Linked DNA regions of Homo sapiens: regions 2, 3 and 4 are each linked to region 1. The links are contacts of gene promoters, found by promoter capture Hi-C in blood cells and fetal thymus (Javierre and others, 2016). All regions are on one chromosome and are shown on one strand. Each heading gives the region's core, a stretch centred on a gene start or on the middle of the fragment in contact. The rest is flanking DNA. Distances are from core to core; before and after follow the strand shown.

Evidence for each region. Contacts are between HindIII fragments. The CHiCAGO score rates a contact against its expected background, and 5 or more counts as called.
Region 2: a contact is called between a fragment that was not itself captured here and the fragment with the promoter of MITF in region 1, in 1 of 17 cell types (monocytes). The highest score is 8.7, in monocytes.
Region 3: a fragment that was not itself captured here is called in contact with the fragment with the promoter of MITF in region 1 in 1 of 17 cell types (monocytes); the score reaches 6.0 in monocytes.
Region 4: a contact is called between a fragment that was not itself captured here and the fragment with the promoter of MITF in region 1, in 1 of 17 cell types (erythroblasts). The highest score is 5.1, in erythroblasts.

The regions. Positions count from the first base shown.
Region 1 is chr3:69,737,252-69,742,460 of GRCh38, reverse strand. It overlaps MITF (melanocyte inducing transcription factor), which reads right to left and starts at 2,997. Exons shown (of 10, transcript NM_001354604.2): 1 at 2,760-2,997. The coding sequence starts at 2,863. RefSeq lists a silencer at 2,762-3,061 and a promoter at 2,861-5,203. The HindIII fragment of the contact is 10,451 bases long and covers 1-5,209 here.
Region 2 is chr3:69,206,569-69,212,080 of GRCh38, reverse strand. All of the region lies in intron 11 of FRMD4B (FERM domain containing 4B), which reads left to right. Among named protein-coding and RNA genes, the nearest start is that of LMOD3, 87 kb to the right of the region's middle. The HindIII fragment of the contact is 526 bases long and covers 2,380-2,905 here.
Region 3 is chr3:69,106,678-69,111,868 of GRCh38, reverse strand. It overlaps LMOD3 (leiomodin 3), which reads left to right. Exons shown (of 3, transcript NM_198271.5): 3 at 2,748-5,191. The coding sequence ends at 2,774. Among named protein-coding and RNA genes, the nearest start is that of LMOD3, 13 kb to the left of the region's middle. RefSeq lists an enhancer at 476-977. The HindIII fragment of the contact is 494 bases long and covers 3,596-4,089 here.
Region 4 is chr3:69,068,266-69,073,869 of GRCh38, reverse strand. It overlaps UBA3 (ubiquitin like modifier activating enzyme 3), which reads left to right. Exons shown (of 18, transcript NM_003968.4): 5 at 2,253-2,335. Among named protein-coding and RNA genes, the nearest start is that of UBA3, 9.3 kb to the left of the region's middle. The HindIII fragment of the contact is 1,725 bases long and covers 1,872-3,596 here.

The sequences.
Region 1 (5,209 bases), core at 1,748-4,247:
ACTGGGAGAAATTAGGAGCCATGGGCAGGTTCTGGGCAGAGAATGACAGGATCTGACTTGAGGTTTAACACAGAGTTGCTTGACCTCAGCACTACTAACAATTTGGGACCAGATAATCCTTTGTTGTGGGGGCTGTCCTGTGCACTGTAAGATGTTTAGCAGCATCTCTGGCCTCCACCTACTAGATATGGGTAATGATCCCTTCCACTGTAACAATCACAAATGTCTCCAGACACTGTCAAATGACCCCAGGGGCAAAATCACCTCCAACTGAGAACCAGTTTTAACAGGAACATTGTGGCTACTATACTGAAAATTCACTAAATGTGGGTATTGCAGTTTAAAAGACTACTGCAATAATCCAGGCAAGGGCTGATGGTGGCTTGGACCAAAGTGGTAGCAGAGGAGGTGGTAAGAAGCGGGCAGATTCTGGACATATTTTCAACTCTAACAACTCTGGACAATCCAGAGAAGACAGTTGATAGGCAGAACGGCTACAGCAGTCTTCACATATCAATTTCAACTTTTTCCGACAAAGACTTGTAAGAAGTGAGGTGCCCCAGCAAAAACATAAGACAAAAAGCAATGAGAGAGAAGGCCCTGAACAATGTGCAGCCCTTTTAAGTCACACAACAGATGTCGACGACAATACCTTAGACAACTGTGGAAAACAGTATAGAGAAATGTTGCCAACTCCATATATTTATTCACAGATTTTATTTAACTGGTTTATTTCAAAGAGCATGTGTGTGCTCCATATACAAGTTTTACAACAACTTTTTTAATTTAGCCTTCCTTTCCCTGCTGGTTCAGGCCCACACCTGTTTCTAGCATTAACGTGTGAAGCCATTTCTTCCCACATACCCACATTTTCCCTTACACGTGCCTGCTAGCTAGCTACTGAGGACGTTCACCCTTACAAGTCTTTTTTGCTGACTCTGAAAAAGAACAGGCCCAAATCGTGCAACATGAGTTTCACGGCACTCATTTGGGTTTTTCCAGATGGTATTTTCCTCGCTCTCTCAAACTGATTTAATGTTATGTATCAGCTACCATCAGAAATGTTCCAAACAGTCCGGTTAATTTATTTCTTTCAGGATTCCACACACACACTCATTCCCTCATTCTGGCCGTGTAAGCATTTGCTTATAGAAGCAAAAGCAGAGACTGCCCAGTAAAACACTGGTCCCTTCAGCCGAATGCAGATAAAGCCCTGATGAGCATAACCAACAATACCCTTCACACAATATTACTCAAAACCCCCAGCCCCCAACACACACAATCTATGCTCACACACAAAACAGCCATTATGAGGAAAAACCACCAACTAAAGGCTGGTTTTATACGTCCAACTGCTTAGGCGGTTTCCTTCCAATCTGCCGTGAAGCATCTACAAAGAGTCTTCAGCAATGGCAGTCAGTAGGACCGCTGTTCCCAGATTTTCTTCCCCAACTTGGATAAAGAGTCCTGCCACAGCCCTGAAGGAAATAAACCTGGCTGCACTTTCCACTAGAAAAAGAACCAGCCCAGTGCTCGCCAGAGGCCAAGATTACACCACTTGGCTCCCCGTTCAGTTGCCCTTCTCCACTCACCCTCATTTCAAGACCCTCTCCCACTCTGCCAGCCAGGCCCATTCACCCAGGCCCCATCCACAGCGAAGGGCAAGGCAGGAAGTTACAGCCGAGTGCAGAAGCCCTGCTGGATGCTTCCAATGATAGCCTTATCCTAGCTCACAGCTTAGAGGGGTGGAAATAAACCCTTCTCAGCTATTCCAGCCTCCATTGACCATGTCCCTTTTAGGAAACATTGTAAACGAGAAGTACGAGGCGTCCAGAGTGGCTGCCGGACAGAGAGAACGGAAGACACCCAATCCATTTCGACAGACAAGTGGGAATGGAGGCAGCAAAAAGGGTGGCTCAAGGGAAGTGGGCACTAGAGGGGATGGGGCATCAGAGCAGTGGATGTCTTCACTCCTCGTCTAAAAAGTTTCTGAAGTCCCCAGCGAATTAAACACGTGTCTCTGCCAAGCGGGGTACACTCCCAGTAACCCCCAAGACCAAGGCTCATTTCCCCTCTGCAGGTAAGGCCTGGATTTGAATGGGACTCTATTTCCAGAGAGTTTAACTTGAACAAGGGGACACGCCCACCGCTGCCCTGGCCCCTCCCGCGCCCGCTAGCAGCGGTCTGGAGGTGAGAGGCGGAGCCCAGAGAAACCTCACCTGCAGGAGCCCAGAGGCTAGTTTCCCCACAGAGACCGGACTCCCAAGAGGTGACTCCAAGCGAACTAATTGCTTCCCTCCAATGTCGCATCTCAGTCCACCCAAAGCTCTCCCTCTCCGAGCCCTCAACCCGCTGGGATCTTCAGAAAGGGGGTTCACTAGAACTCTTTCTCCCCCATCCCACCGGGACAGCGTCCCGGCCCGGCGCTCCTCCTCCCCCACATCGCGCCAGGTCGCTCCCCAGCCCCCAATCAGTCTCAGCAGCTGGCATCCTCGGCCGAGGGTCCCCGCGCCTGGACGCTTCGTCCCCGGCGACCCGCCGCGCCCCCGCGAAGTGCGCTCCATCCGAGCTTCCTAAAGGCGCACTTGGGCCGGGCAGGCGCGGCCCCCAACTGCGAGGGGCAGTTCGCCCTCTGCTCCGGGGCAAGGGCACTGGGTCCTTGTCCCAGAGCTCCCGCGACCCGCTCTCCTCGCCCCAGAGTGGCAGACGCAGTGCCCCCCAGCCGCCCGGTGCGCCTCTGCCCAGCTGTCACCACTCACCTGCTCTTCAGCGGTTGACTTTTGAGTTCGTAATAGGTTTTGGGCTCTTCATGAAACTCCTCCCCGACTTCGAAATCCGGCACGATCCCCGATTCGGACTGCATGGCTCCCGCTTCCCGTCCTTCCACTGCTGGAAAGTGAGAACAGAGCCCGGGGGCGGAGGGAAGGTAGCTGGGCCTGGGTCCCCCGAGCCGTGCGCCCCGGCGCAGTGCCGAGCTCTGCCCGCTCGCCGGCTCGCGGCCGCCCGCCCCAGCGCGGGGAGTTTACACTCGCACCCGGGCGGGAGGGGCTGGCGGCCGAGCGCCGCCTGGGATCTGTAGTTCGGCCCGGGCGGGGCATTCCCAGCTCGCCTGGGGAGCCGCTCCCACGAAAACTACAGCTCCCAGAAGGCCAGGCGGGGGAGAGGCAACGTGGTGGACACCGCTAGTGCAACTCCTGTTTGGATTCATTGTCAATGTCAGCAGCTCCTCTCCCTCCTCTCTCCCCACTTGCTTCAAGGGTACAGACTTGGCTACTTAATATGAATAAGAATGGACACTGACTGCTCTTCTACCATCGCCCCGACCTCTCAGCTCAGACATCTGCGAGGGCACGCCAAGTGCTTATTTTAAAAATAAAATAGTCAAGGGTTTTGGCACAAGAAAGTTTTAGCATTCGAGCCTGTCTTAAAATAAAAGGACTTCCTATCAGCTCGCATGCTTCCCTGGGCTGCTGCGACATATCAGCTTGTCCTCGGATTGGAACAACGAGGAAGAACTTTCCTTCGCTCTGTAATGAAAACGTTATTGGAGAAATTGTTCTTGTGCGTTCCTTTTCTAGAACTAAGTCTGGACTTTTACAATAGTATTCATCAGTTGAATGGCTCTTTCCCCTTTATCCAAGTAGCCACTTCTAATCTACAGCAGCAATTGAAAGATTCGGTTAATTTTAAAAGGCACAAAGTTACAAAATAGCGTCGTTGCTCTCTGCTTTTAATTTCTCAGTTGACTGGGAGTTCAAATGAGATTTGTCCTAGCATTTCAGGAGTGAAGATGTACAAGTGAACTGTACAAGTGTCCACCCCTTCCCGAGCTTCCCGGAACTCACTTAGGGAAGAGAATTTTAAAACTCTCCGTTGTGGCTCATTTGTACTTCTAGTTCTTCCCTCTGATTAGCTCCAGTAGGACGTGTTCCTTCTTTTCAAAAGTGTTTTGAGGCATCAGGGAGGCAGTATAGAGTTACAGTGGCATTTAAAGGTATAAGACTCAGAGTTGAAATCCCCAGTCCTTCTAAGAAGAGCTGTGCAATCCTGAGCATGTCACTTGGTTCCTAGAAGCCTCCATTTCTTCATCCATAAAAGAAGAGATTGGCAAACCAGTTTTAGAAGATGTTGCAAGGTCAAATGTAAGAGAAAGTGATTTGCAATCTATAAAAACTCTGCTCAGTGGTCATTCTTTATTAGGTCTTGAAGTTATTCCTTTCAGATTAACATCTCATTTTGGTGTTTGGCCTTTCAGAATTAATAAACTAAATGACTGTCCTAGGAGAAAATTCTAAAGAGGCTACAGTGACAACTGGGCACCTCCCAGGAGTTACCCCTTTGCATATCTTGCCTCCCACTGAAACATTTTAATTTCACATCAGAAAAGACATCCAGTAGGATGGATCGATGTTAGGGCTGGAGTTCTCAAGGTGATTTGGAAAAAGTGCAGAAGGCACACTATGTTGCAGTAGCAATTACCAAATTTTCAGAATAAAAATTAGTCCCCAACATACGACTTTTAGGCCCTCCCCTGAAACTATTAAACTATGTCAGAATACCTGAGAACACCCCTAAGGAAAGTGGGAGTTTTGTGCTCATAAAAGTGGGATCCTAGATTCCTTAATAGATGGACTGCTGGAAATTAGCTGTCAAAAGCAAACAAAGAAAACGTGTTTCCTTCATGTTCTCTGGGAGAGAAAGAAGAAAGATCAAACATGAAGGAAACATGCAGTCTAGACTTCTAATCTCATCTGGGCTCTCAATTATCAGTGCTTGGAATATGGGAGGAGGGGTTGTCATAATAACTTATGGATGTTACAGACGTTTAAGGGGTATGGGCCAGAGACACTACACATATTGCACAATAACAAATTTTCTTGTCCAAATTTCAGTGGTATGTATCCCCATTGAGAAACATGGGAAGCTGCCTAATCTTTGGGCTCACCAGAAGTTTTTTAATCTGAGGGAAGCTACGGATCCTCTTCTCAGAAAATACAGATAGAAACAAAACTGTGCATAATTTTGGTCAGCTGACCCACTGAAGGCTATCACAGACTTTATGTTACAACTGCAGTTTATAACTTCTTTAGATCTGCAGTGAAACAGTCTACCCATCACTTATTACATCAAATAGTGACCTTCCAGACCTAAGGGACTAACCTCAAAGGAAAGAAAACTCAGGAAAACCAAGACCTCCGAATTCATCTTC
Region 2 (5,512 bases), core at 1,393-3,892, 530 kb after region 1:
GGCCCATGTTATCACTTTCTTGCCTTCTCTTTCTCCGTTTTTTTTTTTGGGGGGTGTCTACTCTGTGCCATTGTTTATTTCTTCCTTTCTTCTTTTGTTAAAATCTGACAATGGATTTTGCTTCCATATATTTATTTTTTATGTCCAGACAATGTAAGGATTGAGGCTGTTTTACAAGTCCCTCTCCTGGCCTAGTTTGCACAAATGAAAGAATGCATAATTTAAAGGACCATGAGCACAGCCTTCTATTAAAGGAGGATCATGCTTCAGCTGTTTGTGTGGACCTGTGCAGGCTGCAAGTTTACCAATGGACCAGCAGGAATGAAGGTCAAATTGGCAAACTGTAATGAAACAAAGGCTATAATGAGAGGCCTTAAGGTGCTCAGCCTCTTGAGCCACATCCCGTCTTGTTACAATTATGTGGCTTAAAAGCAGGCCAGAAGAAGGGAAATTTACTGAGAATAAGTACTAAGAATAAGAAAACTGATGCCGAAAGGCTGTTTTGAAAAGGAGTTGTTCCAAGATCTCCCAGCAGTGACCTTCAGACCTTTCTGTATCAGTTATCACCTGTGAATGTTAAGGGCAGGGAGGTATTTGTTTGACCTCCCAGGGCATCCAGCAGATGCTCTTCAAGTCTTTTATTTATATGGCTTTTTTTTGCCAGTCTGGGGTGCCAACAAGTTGTTTTCAACCAGTGTGTAGTGTAGTACAGTGATGCAGGGAAAGAGTTTGGGAGACATCCCAACCTCTGCCCCTGGTGTCTATTTACTGTGCCACCTTGAGCATGTTGTTTAATCTCTCTTTAAAAGTGGTTTTCTCATCTGCACAAGGGTATTGCCACCAACTGTGTAGGGTGGTTGTAAGACCTAGAGGACAAATTTAGCACCATAGCTGATACGCCATCATCATTAGTAGTAGTGAGAAGACAGACAATAAAAGAGTATGGGAAATATTCTTGGATCACTGGTTAGAGAGGGACACAACATTGCTACAAGCCCACAGCTTTAGTGTACTAAGAATCCACTCTCAAATTTTCTTTCTTTTTTTTTTTTTTTTTCGAGATGGCATTTCACTCACTCTTGTTGCCCCGGGTGGAGTGCAATGGCACGAGCTCAGCTCAGCTCACTGCAACCCCTGCTTCCCGGGTTCAAGGAATTCTCCTGCCTCAGCCTCCCAAGTAGCTGGGATTACAGGCATGCGCCACCATGCCTGGCTAATTTTGTATTTTTAGCAGAGATGGAGTTTCACCATGTTGGTCAGGCTGGTCTCGAACTCCTGACCTCAGGTGATCCACCTGCCTGAGCCTCCCAAAGTTCTGGGAATAGAGATGTGTGCCACTACACCCGGCCTCCACCCTCAAATTTTCTGTTTTCGGAGATGTGTGAGCACTTCTTTCACCTCCTAATTCATTAAGCATCATGCCTGAAGGTGTGACGCAAATTAAAGGAAAAATTTTTAATCCAAAATTACAAACCACAAACATTCAGGGTATTAAAAATTAAGACAATAAGCAGCTTTACTTTTTAATCCTCCCTTTGTGTATGAATATGTCATTGCAAACTCTTAGAGAATGTGAAAACGTACCAGAACTCAACTGAATTCCAAATGGTAAGACATTTGGACTTAGAGACTGATGAAGTTTCACTTAAAGAAAAAAAAAAAAGCAGCCTTGTGTTCCTTCTAAGTATTTATTGTTCAGTATTTCAAGGAAAAATGTCTGTTCTTCATAAAGAAGCAGACAGTGGGTCAGAGACTGAGCCAAGTATTAGTCTATGTCATGACAGATTTGTATCCCTTCGGCAAATACTTCCCCTGGAAAACCAGAGCCTGTCAGATGGCAGAGATAAAATGACATACTGTCGAGGTGTCCATAGTGGGACAAAATGCTTCTCAAGATAAGTATCTTTTTGCCTTATATCATGCCAAGAAAGACTTGAGGTGAACTTCATCACCACAGGGCATGTGAAGGTGGGAAAAGTCTCTTAGCTTTCTGTTTCTGTCTCTATATATATTGGAATTCCCAAATCCCTAAAGCCAAATGAATTAAGTAACAAGCACAAAAGTCTTCCTGTTTTCTTCTCATACAACTACAAGGTTATTTTATTTAAAGACAGTGACTTGGTTATTTCTTTAAGCACAGCTATCTTGAGCATTTCTAAGCTCTTCTTTCCACCATGACCATACCACCTTGGACCTAGATTAGAAGCTACTTCTGACACTGCTGAAATTCTAGATGAGATTAACTGTAGGAGAAGAGAACATGGGTTGTTCTCTTTCTACATTAATGCCAAATAAAGCATGGTATGGAAGAAAATAATTGGATTTTAGAATGTCAACCAGAGACTGGTCCATCCTGTTTATAAAGTGTGTATCTAAGCTTTAACCACACCAGTAATCAATCTGATTGTTAAAACCTTCTGCAGAGTCAGTGGGAGGAGAACTCCCATCCTACAGCATGGATTTGAAATAAGAACCAGTTCTGCATTTCCACTTACCAGCTGGCTGACTCAGAGCTGTCACTCAACTTTCTGGGCCTTCATTTTTTTCAGCTATCAAATTGAGATAACTCTTGTCTGCTGTCCACCTCACAGATCATTGTGAGGACCCAATGAGTTAGTGAGTTATTTCACTGAGTGGGTTATTTTCCCCTCCACACCATACTTTAATTTATAGAAAGTGTATTGTACAGCATGGTCTTTCTCTTCCCCTCCCATAGTTGATCGCAATTAGAATTTTAAGCAGTTCTCGTAAAACATGGAACTTTTAGAAAATTGGTTAGGTATTGGTGAAGAAGATGGAAAGAGGGAGGCCTAGGCAGGCTCCTCTGTCATTTGGAAAGTACCAACTCTGAGTGCAAGGGCAGCTGGGTGGTATTGTCTCTAGGTGGGTGGCCCTGGGCAAAGCTTTAACTCAAGATGTTCTTTTTTTTTTTTTTTTGAGATGGATTCTCGCTCTGTTGCCCAGGCTGGAGTGCAGTGGCGTGATCTTGGCTCACTGCAACCTCCACCTCCCAGGTTCGAGCCATTCTTCTGCCTCACCCTCCTGAGTAGCTGGGACTACAGGCGCACGCCACCACGCCCAGCTAATTTTTGTATTTGTAGTAGAGATGGGGTTTCACCACGTTGGCCAGGCTGGCCTCGAACCCCTGACCTCCTGATCCGCCTGCCTCAGCCTCCCAAAGTGCTGGGATTACAGGTGTGAGCCACCGCGCCTGGCATAACTCAAGATGTTCTATTACTAAAAATAAGGAAAAATAGATCCTAGGGGAGATCAGTAGTTTCTGTCACACTGTATTTGTTTCCTTTGAAGTCTTTGGAGGGATGGTTGGTGAGAAACAAGTAAGCAAAGAAATAAAGACATAAATTTGTAATTATCTTTGATGGAAACAAATGAGATGGGGGACAGTAATGGGATGCAGGGAGGGGACATTTGGTGTGTTCAGGGAAAGCCTCTCTGAGGAAGGTGATGTTTAACCTGAGACCCGAAGGGCAGAAAGCTCATAAAGAACAGTATGGCTTGTTCTCATCAAAGAACAGGGTATGCCGATGGGAAGGAGATAGGCATGTTAGAAACCCAGGAGAAGGCTGGTTGCAGTGGCTCAGCCTATAATCCCAGCACTTTGGGAAGCCGACGTAGGCGGATCACTTGAGGTCTGGAGTACCAGACCAGCCTGGCCAACATGGTGAAACCCTATCTCTACTAAAAATACAAAAATTAGGCCAGGCGTGGTGGCTCATGCCTATAATCCCAGCACTTTGGGAGGCCGAGGTGGGTAGATCACCTGAGGTGAGGAGTTGGAAACCAGCCTGGCCAACATGGTGAAACCCCGTCTCTACTAAAATACAAAAAATTAGCCGGGTGTGGTGGTGGGTGCCTGTAATCTCAGCTACTCAGGAGGCTGAGGCAGGAGAATTGCTTGAACCCGGGAGGTGGAGGTTGCAGTGAGCCAGGATCACACCATTGCACTCTAGCCTGGGTGACAGAGTGAGACTCTGTCTAAAAAAATAAATAAAATAAAAATAAAAATACAAAAATTAGCCAGACATGGTGGCGGGTGCCCATAATCCCAGCTACTTGGGAGGCTGAGGCAAGAGAATTGCTTGAACCCAGGAAGCGGAAGTTACAGTGAGCCAAGATGGCGCCACTGCACACCACTGTAGCTGGAGCTTACGGAGTTCCGTGTAGAAATGGAAGATGCTGCTAGAAGAAAAGGAAGTGGCTGCCAGACAGGCAGAACCATCAGATGTCCATTGTTTTTTCTTTTTTTTTTTTTTGAGACGGAGTCTCACTCTGTCACCAGGCTGGAGTGCATTGGCCCGATCTTGGCTCACAGCAACCTCTGCTTCCCAAGTTCAAGTGATTCTCCTGCCTCAGCCTCCCGAGTAGCTGGGAGTATAGGCATGTCCCACCACGCCCAGCTAATTTTTGTATTTTTAGTAGAGACGGGGTTTCACCATGTTGGCCAAGATGGTTTCGATCTCTTGACCTCGTGATCCACCCGCCTCGGCCTCCCAAAGTGCTGGGATTACAGGCATGAGCCACGGTGCCTGACTGTCCATTGTTTTTTCTATTCCTTTACATGTCTAAGCATTTACCACATGGTTGAACTGTTGGCACATGAAGAAAAATGAAAGATAGCTCATAAATAGGATTGACTAGTCTGAATGCAGAGAAAAGCAATTAGTACATAAAGCACTGTAAAAAATAGTTCTATGAAGAGGCATAAACAGTAAAGATTTATTTTCTTTCTTTCTTTCTTTTTTTTTTTTTTTTAAAGACATAGGTTCTAACTCTGTTGCCCAGGCTGGAGTGCAGAGTCATAATGATAGTTCACTGCAGCCTCAAACTCCTCAGTTCAAGCAATCCTCCCACCTTAGCCTCTCAAGTAGCTAGGACTATAGGCATGTGCCATTGTGTCCCACTAATTTTTTAAATTCTGTTATGGAGACAGGGTCTCACTATGTTGCCCAAGCTGGTCTTGAACTCATGGCCTCAAGTGATCCTCCCACCTCAGCCTCCCAAAGTGCTGGGATTATAAGCGTGAGCCATTGTGCTTGTCCAAAGTTTCTTTATTATATACTTGTGACCAATGATTGGCTGGTTTGGGACTTTTTTTTGGTAGCAAGGCTTCACTGATAAGCTAAAGTTGTTAAATTCATCTATCTTTACATTTCTAACCATAGAGTGCCATGTACCTGATTTTATGCTCCCCTCCACCAAAAAAAAATGTATTAAGCCCAATGCATTTACAGGGGCCCTAAATGAGTGCTTTATATTCTTTGTCTCATTTAAGGAAAAAGCCACAATCCCTGCCATCAAGTACCTGCCAATATATCTGGAAAGAAAGAATGTATTCAAAATTAGGTATTTTATTGGAAATATTTAAAAACCAGACTAGGTACAAAACCACAAGAAGGGATACCAGTTGTAAATATCCATAATAGTTATACAGGTGCCCAGAGCAGTAGCTCAGCCCTGGTGGCATCAAATACATCAGTGAGCACGCTAACGA
Region 3 (5,191 bases), core at 2,593-5,092, 630 kb after region 1:
ATTTAGTGACTGATTCCTCTTTTCCCCAGTGATCTGAACTACCAGCTTGGTCATACTTTAAAGTAAATATGTGTCTGGGTTTACTATTCTGGGTCAGTGCCACATTTTCTTTTTAAAATATTATTCTGGGCTGGGCATGGTGGCTCACACCTGTAATACCAGTACTTTGGGAGGCCAAGGCAAGAGGATCACTTGAGTCCAGGAGGGCCTGGCTGCTTTGAGTTATCATTGCACCACTGCGCTCCAGCCTGGGTGACAGTGAGATCCTCATCTCTCTAAATAATTAAAAAATTTTTAAATTTAAAATATTATTTTGGAACTCTTCCATGCATATATAAACAAATACAGGGAATAACTTATATAAAATGCTTCTTTTTCCATTCCATAATACAAAGAACACAGTGTTTTAACTATTTATTGCAGCTTTACAGTTATTTTAAATACCTGGCTCATGGTTTCTCTTAACTACTGGTGTTCTCCATGGGAGAGCCCTGCAGGGTGCAGTCATACCCCTCTCTTCTCAAAGTTTGGCACAAGGGAGGTAGAGGGTCAGAAGCCATGGAAGTCCCCTTGGCTTGAAGGCTGGCAGGCAGCAGCACATCAAAGGTCCTCTCTGGTGGGCAGAATATTGGAAAAACATTCCTAGCCAAAGATCGTGGGCTGAGAACTGGCTGCAAGAGGAGCCAGAGCAGATGACCAAAATGGTTCATCACACTGGCAGGTGGACATTAGCAATACAGGGAGAAACATTCCTAGTCATTGTTATACAAATGCCCTGGGGACACTGGGCATCTTCAGTGTCCTCTGGAAGGTACATACATGATGGATGAGTTGATGAGTTACTTTCCTAAGATACAATGACACTTGAAACCCTTTAAAAACTTGCTTTGTCCTTAAGGTTTTCCTATGAGGCAGAAGTATGAAGTGGGTTTGCAGTGTTGGACTTCTGTTGTTGTTTTATAATTTTTTTTTGTCTTGGGGGATGCTTTAAATATATATATATATATATATATATTTTTTTTTTTTTTTTGAGATGGTGTCTCTGTTGCCCAGGCTGGAGTGCAGTGGTGGGATCCCAGCTCAAGGCAACCTCTGCCTCCCGGGTTCAAGCAATTCTCCTGCCTCAGCTCCCTGAGTAGCTGGGATTACAGGCACGTGCCACCACGCCCAGCTAATTTTTGTATTTTTAGTAAAGACAGGGTTTCACCCTGTTGGCCAGGCTTGTCTTGAACTCCTGACCTCAGGAGAACCGCCCACCTCGGCCTCCCAAAGTGCTGGAATTACAGGCGTCAGCCACCGCGCCCAGCCTTGTTATAAAACTCTTTTAAGAAAATCAGGTGGCTGGGTGCGGTGGCTCACACCTGTAATCCCAGCACTCTGGGAGGCCAAGGTGGGTGGAGCACCTGAGGTCAGGAGTTCACGACAAGCCTGGCCGACATGGTGAAACCCCGTCTCTACTAAAAATACAAAAATTAGCTGGGCGTGGTGGCATGCACCTGTAGTCCCAGCTACTTGGGAGTCTGAGGCAGGAGAATCGCTTGAACCTGGGAGGCAGAGGTTGTCTTGAGCCGGGATCATGCCACTCCACTCCAGCCTGGGTGACAGAGTAAGACTTTGTCTAAAAAAAATAAAATAAAAATCCTAACAAGGTGAGATGGGTCTCACTTTGTTGTTCAAGCTGGTCTCGAACTCCTGGCCACAAGTGATTCTCCCATCTCAATCTCCTGAGTAGCCAGGATTACAGGTGCATGCCCCCTTGCCTGGCTTATATTTCATGTTTAAATATTTCTGACCATCAGATTAGGAGTGTGCTTCAAAGAGGAAAGACATGTTTTAAAAAGAACATATATTTTATATTCTTATAGTGATATTTTTACAGGCAGTGTATAATAATGAGCACTGAAATCAGGCAGACCTGGTTCAAATCCTGCTCTGCCACTTCCTAGCTGTATGATCTTAGGCAAGTTATTGTCTTCTCTGAGCCATTTCTCTCCCTACAAGGCTTTTGTAGGATGTAATGAGATACTGTTTTAAAAATAAGTGTTAGGCCGGGTGCTCATGCCTGTAATCTCAGCACTTTGAGAGTCCGAAGCAAGTGAATCACTTGAGGCCAGGAGTTTGAGACCAGCCAGGCCAACATGGTGAAACCCTGTCTCTACTAAAAATACAAAAATTAGCTGGGCATTGGTGGCACATGCCTGTAATCCAAGCTACTTGGGAGGCTGAGGCAGGAGAATCGCTTGAACCCGGGAGTTGGAGGTTGCAGTGAGCCAAGATGGTGTCACTGCACTCCAGCCTGGAAGATAGACTGAGACTCCATCTCAAAAAAAAAAAAAAAAAAAAAAAAAGTGTTAACATGGATTACTCACTTGTATAATAGCCTTGTGAATTAGATACTGTTATTATCATTTTACAGCTGAGAAAACTGATGCCCAACACCACATAACTACTACATGCTAGTGCCAGTCTTTGAACCCAGGCCAACTTAGGCACCCGCCCTCTTATTTCCATGATGTTACTTTGCCATGTGCTCAAAGCTCTTGGAACAGTCCCTGGCATTAGTAAATGTCTAATAAATGGTGGCTGTGGTTATGATTGTTGTTTTATCTTGATTTTGGAGGTGCTTTGGCCAGAATTTCAAACCTATTCTGTATCTTTTAAGGCATGTAAATTTTGTAAATTTTGCTGCAAAGCTCTTAAATTTCCAGGATTAATTTCCCCCGTTTCCTCAAATGCTTAAATCGCAGGTGCAACTGCCAAAAGAACTGGCGTAAGAGGCAACAGAGCCATCTAGAAGAACAAGAAATGGAAATAGTGACTCTTGGATTACAGCATGGAGACTATGTCAGCAGCAATACTTTAGGATCCACGTGGCAGAACTGGAAACAATGCTACCATCTGATAAGGGTATTTGTAAAAGGCAGAATGTTTGGGCCATGAAGAAGTAGGGGCTGAAGAGGAAGGTGGAAGGAGATAAAATATAATATTTAGAGGCAATATTTTCTACTTGCAATCAATTTGAGTGACTCAGGTGAAATTTAGAGTCATATTTCCCGAAGCAGAAGTTAAAGAAAATTTTTTAAACATTTGCTTTATTATTGTTTTCTTCTGGTAAATAATAAATATAACAGAAGTGTTAACTATTGTATTCCCATTTTTTTCTCCTTCCATCTCTTCTGCGGTAATTCATCACATAGTATCTTAAAGGGAACAAATAATGTTTCATCCTATGGAAATGTGAAGGATGAATTGAGCTCCTGGCCCTTCTGATGCTTTGAAATGGAAGGATTGTTCCTTAGAGCTTCTCTGCAGAATCAGTGGAGATTTTCAGTTTCCCACCCTGCCTGGCTTTCTCTCTTGGTGACTCCCTTGGTGTTTTGGAGTATTCTTTCTATAGGGGTACCTGTGAGGGGCAGAACACGTAAGCCACAGAACATGGTGAAAACTAAGTGTCACTAGGAAAAGTAATGGGAAAGTAAACCCTGCATATATGAAAACTTCCTGGCAGCAAGTTTTCATATATAGAGGGACAATGGGAGACAGCATGCTGTTTTTATAGAAAAGAAGTTTTACATAATATAGTTATTGACAAGCTTTTGGTTTTGGCTAAATACACACACACACACACACGCTCATATGTGTTTACTCTGTAAGTCTAATTTGATTTTATCACTCTCAAACATATTTTAAAGGAAACTTGCTTACAGGAAGGATTAAACTTGAACTACTTATCCTATTCTTTAAGGCACTCCATTGCCTGGCCCCAATTTACTAATCCTGTCTTATTTCCCACAAATCCTTTATACTCTACTCGATGAAACATCCTTGTGCACACCCTTGTGCCTTTGCTCGCATTAATCCTTCCAAGAGACTTCCCTCCTGTTCTCCATTAATGAACGTCCTACCCAGTCTTCAACTCCCGGGTCAGATCCTGTGTCCTCCATAAAAAATTTTCCAGACAACTCCAATCTGTCCTTCTTCCAAGTTCCTAGAGGCCTTAATTATTCATTCTAGCCACTAGGTGCATAGAATTTGAGATTTTTGTAATAATAGAAGTAGTGTGAACCCTAGAAATTAGAAAATCAAGCTTTGGGCCAGGTGCGGTGGCTCATGCCTGTAATCCCAGCACTATGGGAGGCCAGGGAGGGAGGATCTCCAGAGGTCAGGAGTTCGAGACCAGCCTGGCCAACATGGTGAAACCCCGTCTCTATTAAAAATACAAAAATTAGCTGGGCATGATGGCAGGCACCTGTAATCCCAGCTACTCGGGAGGCTGAGGCAGGAGAATTGCTTGAACTGGGGAGGCAGAGGTTGCAGTGAGACAAGATCACGTCACTGTACTCCAGCCTGGGTGACAGAGTGATACTCCATCTCAAAAAAAAAAAAAAAAAAAAAAAAAAAAAAAAAAAAAAAAACCTTTGGTGCCTTTTCTCTCTTCTTTACCTGAGTAAATAATTGGCACCTGCCTTCTTTCTCCTTTTATGTTATCATAAGTGGCATGTATCAAACCAAACAGGCTAGGGGAGAATAGGTCTAATTGTGACAGACTTAAAAACAACACATTATTTGGAAAGACAAGCCATGGGAAAGAAATATGGCGTTTCTATTTTTTTAAGATAATTTAGTATGTACAAAAGTATCCAAATTTAAATATAGTTTTCAATGGCTGATAGTTTTGTTTTCTCACCCTTCAATATTTCTAGAAAACATCCTTGCATACAAAGCAGGATAGCTAAGAAAGGGCTGTAACAAACAAAACTTCAAGTGTCTAGCACATACTACATCTAAGAGGCTAAACTCTGATAGGAAAAGCACTTTAAACATAATTAAAAGCTTAATGTAAATTAGTAGTTGAAATTCTAGGCCGGTGCGGTGGCTCATGCCTGTAATCCCAGCACTGTAGGCGGCCGAGGTGGGTGAATCACATGAGGTCAGGAGTTCAAGACCAGCCTGACCAACATGGTGAAACCCCATTTCTACTAAAAAAAAAAAAAAAAAAAAAAAAAAATACAAAATTAGCCAGGCATGGTAGCTCATGCCTGTAATCCCAGCTACTTGGGAGGCAGGAGAATCACCTGAACATGGGAGGTGGAGGTTGCAGTGAGCTGAGATTGCACCATTGCACTCCAGCCTGGGCAACAAGAGCGAAACCTCATCTCAAAAAAAAAAAAAAAATTCTAGAAAGCCCCTA
Region 4 (5,604 bases), core at 1,485-3,984, 670 kb after region 1:
AGATCGAGACTATCCTGACTAACACAGTGAAACCCCGTCTCTACTAAAAAATACAGAAAACAAAAAATTAGCCGGGCGTGGTGGCAGGTGCCTGTAGTCCCAGCTACTCGGGAGGCTGAGGCGAGAGAGTGGCGTGAACCCGGGAGGCAGAGCTTGCAGTGAGCCGAGATCACACCACTGCACTCCAGCCTGGGCAACAGAGCGAGACTCCGTCTCAAAAAAAAAAAAAAAAAGATACTAATATTACTGATTGAGCAAATATTTATTGAGCCTCCATCCCATATGCCAAGCACCATTTTAGATGCTGAAGATACAGCATTGAACAAATACAGAAAGGTGTTTGCATTGGTGGGACTCACATTTTAGTTGAATGAAAAAGTAAGTATATAGTATGTCAAATGGTGTGAAGGGAAAAGGTTTACAAAAAGGTGCTATTGAGTACAAAGGTGAGCAAATGAGCCATACAGTTATCTGTAGGAAGAATATTCTAGTTAGAGAGAATAACAGGTACAAAGCTGTGAAGTGGAGCACTCCTGTTTGTTCAAGGACTGCAAGGAGGCTATCATCGCTAGAGCAGAAGTGGGTTGGGGGAGCATTTTTGGAGACCATATCAGACAGATAATGGGAGATGGAGGGGCTTGGAGTGGATATCACAAAAGACTTTGGAGGTTACTGTAAGTGCTGTCGCTTTTACTCTGAGTCATGAAGTCATTGGAGAGATTTATGCAATGAGAGACTTGATTGGCTTTTCACCTAGGTTACTGAGGCTGATGCATTGAGAATAGACTAAGGGAAGAGCAGAGAGGGGGAAGAAACAGAGAGACTAATTAGATTATTATAGTCCTCTAGACAAGAGACAACGTGACTTGAAACAGGATGGTAGCATTGGATGTGGTGACAGGTGGTCAGATTATGGATATATTTTGAAGATGGAATCAACAGGATTAGCTGATGGATTGGTGGTGTGCTGTGAGAGAAAGGAATCGAGGATGATACAACAAGGTTTTTGCTCTAGGGGCGGGCACCTGGAAAGATGGAGTTACTGCAATGAGGAAGTTACTGCAATGAGGAAGATCTGGAAAAGAACAGATTTGGTTGTTGTGAGCAAGGGTGATCAAGTTTGGTTTTGGAAACTGTTAAGTCTGAGATGTCTGCTAGATGGTCTATATCTTACAAGATGGTCTGAGATCACCAGAACAAAGCACAAGGCTACTCCGAATTCTGGCCAGTAAAGTAGGAAGAAAACTGAATGAACTGGAAACCAATTTTTAAAAAGTGTTTAAATTCTCATGAGTGTGGTGACCAACTGAAGAACATGTTTTAGGGTGGAGGAAGTGACCCACCCAGCCTAATACCTCAGAAAGGTAAGGTCAGATAGATTGAGAATTGGTCATTGGAGTTAGCAACACGGAGGTTATTGGTGAACTTGACAAGTACAGTTTCTGTGGAGTTTGAGAACAGTCAGGACTTTGAAAGCACAAATATGGATAAGTCTTGAAGATCTCTTGGTATATAGGGGGACAGAAAAATGAGGAAATTATTGTCAAGTTATTTGATCATCGAAGTAAACTGACCAAGACCAGAAAAGTTAGTTATTGAGACTTATTTTTTTCAGTTTTTTGCATCTGCTGCTAAATTTGAATGTGGTTGTACTGTTCAGAATGCATGGCATTATTATGGAAACCTAACAGGTTTTTTGTTTTTTGCCTTTCCCTGCTTTTTAAATTGCATGCTCTTGATTCAATATCTTTTAAGATACTCCTTTTACAAATACAGCCTACCCATGTGTGTGTTTTTATAATATATGTCTTATAATAGTTACCATTTCTGAATTGTGGCATGCTTAATATTAAGTAAACTAAAATAAAGCTTGTAGAATTGCTTTTAACAATATTTTGAAAAAATAATAGCAAGCATAGTAAAATTAAAGTATCCATCAATAGCAGCAAAGCAACAAATTTTACAAATGTGTTTATGGAATTATATATATATGTAAAATAGTTTCAATCCGTAGAAATTTTGAGTTGTTCTCTTTTGGTTATAGATTATTTGAAACTGAGTGATTGTACACTTTTGACCTGTTCAAGAACTCTGAATTTTATATACCTTGCAAGAGTCTTTCAGCCATTGAATACAAATTACACAGAATTTATTACTGAGAATTTGTAGACTTAAGACTACATTGAAAACAAATGTTACGTTTTTAAATGTGAGGAAACTTCTGCTTAATTGGATTGTTTTTATTCCCACAGGCCTTGTCTGGTTTTAGACAGATTCATGTTATAGATATGGACACTATAGATGTTTCCAATCTAAATAGGCAGTTTTTATTTAGGTAAGTTTTAATATCTTAGCGGTTTTCTTTTTTTAAGCTCTGATAATCATTTGAACTTGTACATTGCAGTTTAATAATTTTTAAAAATGACTTGAGAGGATAATACTAATTTTATTTTAAAAAACAAAAACTACCATTCCCATTGTAGGTAAAGTTTTGTAAGAAAATTTTGGGCATCTTGGTGATAGTAGTTATGTAAACAAATACATGTTTTTGTTTTTTCGAAGAAGTCTCCTTCCAAAGGTTTATGTGATTTTTGGGAATATCCTCAGGTTAACTGTGCTCTGAAGAAAGGAAAGAACGGTAGCTCTTCCTCCAGTTGATGTCAGAAGAGAATACTCGCTGGAGTATTAGGCCCTAGTGAGAGATTGGCAGGGATTTGTGAGCCAAGGTTTGAATGGTGACTGGAGCAATAAAGTTGGGAAAGAGTTTGAGCTTTTCCTACAAGGGGAAAGAAAATGGAAAGTCGAGGAGAGAAAAACCAGAACCAATTGGAATGGAACAAAGAGGGATGGTTACCTTAGGCATATATGGAATATAGAGAACATCAAGGAGTGATTTGTTAAAGATGAGTTTAAGAAGAGAAGTAGAGGCCAGGCATGGTGGCTTACACCTGTAATCCCAACACTGGGAGGCTGAGGTGAGAAGATTGCTTGAGCCCAGGAGATCCAGACCAGCCTGGGCAACAAAGGGAGATTTCGTCTCTACAAAAAAATTAAAAAATTAGCCGGGTGTGCACCTGTGGTCCCTGCTGCATGGGAAGCTGAGGTAGGAGGATCGTTTGAGCTCAGGATCTGGAGGCTGCAGTGAACTGTGTTCATGCCACTGTACTCCAGCCTGGGCAACAGAGCGAGACCCTGTCTCAAAAACAAAAACAAAACAACCCAAAAAACAAAAACTGAAGTAGACCATGTATCCAGACATGAAGAAATGTTCATTCATGAATTTAGTATGTAATATTGAGGGGTTTGAGTAGTTTAGGTAAAAGTGTATATTTGTTAGTCAAAGATACACAGAGATAAGGACTTTTTTTTTCTCTCTCTATTTAGGAAGTTTGCATCTGTTACTGACAGTGCTCAAATTGTTCTGGGTATATAGGATAAAGTTGAGCTAGCAAAAAAGGTAACATTAAGTTTTTGGATAGGCATAAAACCTCTACATTATCTTTGTGGAAGATCTTAATGGGACTGAAGTATGGATTAAAATAAGTTAATGAAGTGTTGTAATTGCAGTGTGACCCTTAATGTTTAACTTTTAAGCTTTATTTTTTGTTTATTTTTTAACCTTTGAAATTTCCCTTCTCTATAGCAAAGTTTGTGGGCTCTGTCCAGCTTGTCAAATTTTGAGTTGTGAATTCTCTGAAAAAGATACCACTGAATTGATTTGTTATTGATACAGGCCATACCCTTTAATTTGTGGCTAAAATGGTTGAAGATGGTAATAACGATATGTAGCAAGTACTTCTAAACTATCCATATTATTCCATTTAATCTCAGCAACCTCAGGGTAGGTTCTTGTGTTCAAGGTTAAATAATTTGGGCAGAGTGTCCTGCAAGGATGATGTGTGTGAAAGGCCATTTTATTGAGGTGGAGCAATCTGATTGTTTCATCCTGGAATGGTAAATTAACAAACAGTTCCCAGAAACCATCTAGGAGTTCTTTTGTTTGGGCCGTGCCATAAAAGCACATAGAATATATTACTTAAAATAATCTTAGAAGTCTACTTTATCCCTTTTACAAACCAAAAGAGCTTTCTGTGTGTGGAGCCATTGAATGCAATACTGAAATTAAGTTCTTTGATTTATAACAGGGCCTTTTTTATGTAAGTTAGTACAAAGTGAAGATAAAACATTTACCAAAAGTTTTGAATCAAAAAAGAACAGTGCTTTATTGGAGAGAAAAAAAATTGGCCTGGCATGGTGGCTCATGCCTGTAATCACAGCACATTGGGAGGCTAAGGTGGGCGGATCACTTGAGGTCAGAAGTTCGAGACCAGCCCGGCCAACACGGTGAAACCCTGTGTCTACTAAAAATACAAAAATTAGCCAGGCGTAGTGACTCATGCCCGTAGTCCCAGCACTCTGGAGGCTGAGACAGGAGAATTGTTTGAATCTGGGAGGCAGAGGTTATAGTGAGCCGAGATTGTGCCACTGCACTCCAGCGTGGGTGACAGAGCGAGACTCTGTCTCAAACAAACAAAAAAAAAGAAAAGAAAAATTGACATGCTAAAGTGTTTTTCTTTGAAATTTCAGATTTTTTTCTAATAAGCACACGATTTATTATTTTCATTTATTTTAAAAGTATTTACTGTGTGCTAGGTAGGAAGGAATATGAAGAGAGTAAGAACATGGTCACTTTCATCCAAATAATAGTCTAGTGGGTATGATAGACGTGTATGTAGCAAATATGTTACGAAAAAAGTAATAATGTTCTTATTATATACATGGAGTGATTTCTCTGAGGAGAATATGGAAATATTAGGAAAGAAAATACCATTTGTATAGAACTTAGAGGAGGAAATTCATATCCTTTCCTATCTATATGTGTGGTTATTGTTTTAAGAGTGACCTTTTGAGGCCTTATATATTCAGCTTCTGTGATGTAATAGTAACATTTGCAATTTTAGCTGACACTTTTGGTATTATTCTTTCTTTAAAAACTTGGTGCCGGGCATGGTGGCTCATGCCTGTAATCCCAGCATTTTGGGAGGCTGAGGCGGGCAGATCACCTGAGGTCAGGAGTTCGAGACCAGCCTGACCAACATGGCAAAACTAAAAATACAAAAACTAGCTGGTTGTGGTGGCAGGCACCTGTAATCTCACCTCCCTAGAGACTGAGGCATGAGAATTGCTTGAACCTGGGAGGCGGAGGTTGCAGTGAGCCGAGATCGCACCACTGCACTCCAGCCTGGGTGACAGAGTGAGTGAGACTCCGTCTCAAAAAGAAAAAAGAAAAAAACGTGGTTACAGCCTCTTTTTTTTTTTTTTTTCCATTTTATATACGGTCCAGTGAAATTTTTTTTTTCTTTTTTTTTCTTTTTCATGCAGCTTCTTAGGGGACACAAAATTTGCTGCTTAATCAGCACACACAGGAAGAAGGGGTTAAATGAAGGTTCTTGCATCCCAAGGATGAATCTTATTGTGTATATTTCAGCCAAGACCTGTGGAGTAACACCATAAGGTTCTGAGCTCTAAGAGTGGGATAATTTTTTACAGTGGAAAGTGGCCAGGAATCATAGCATTATTATGCTTTATCTGGGAGGAAGAACA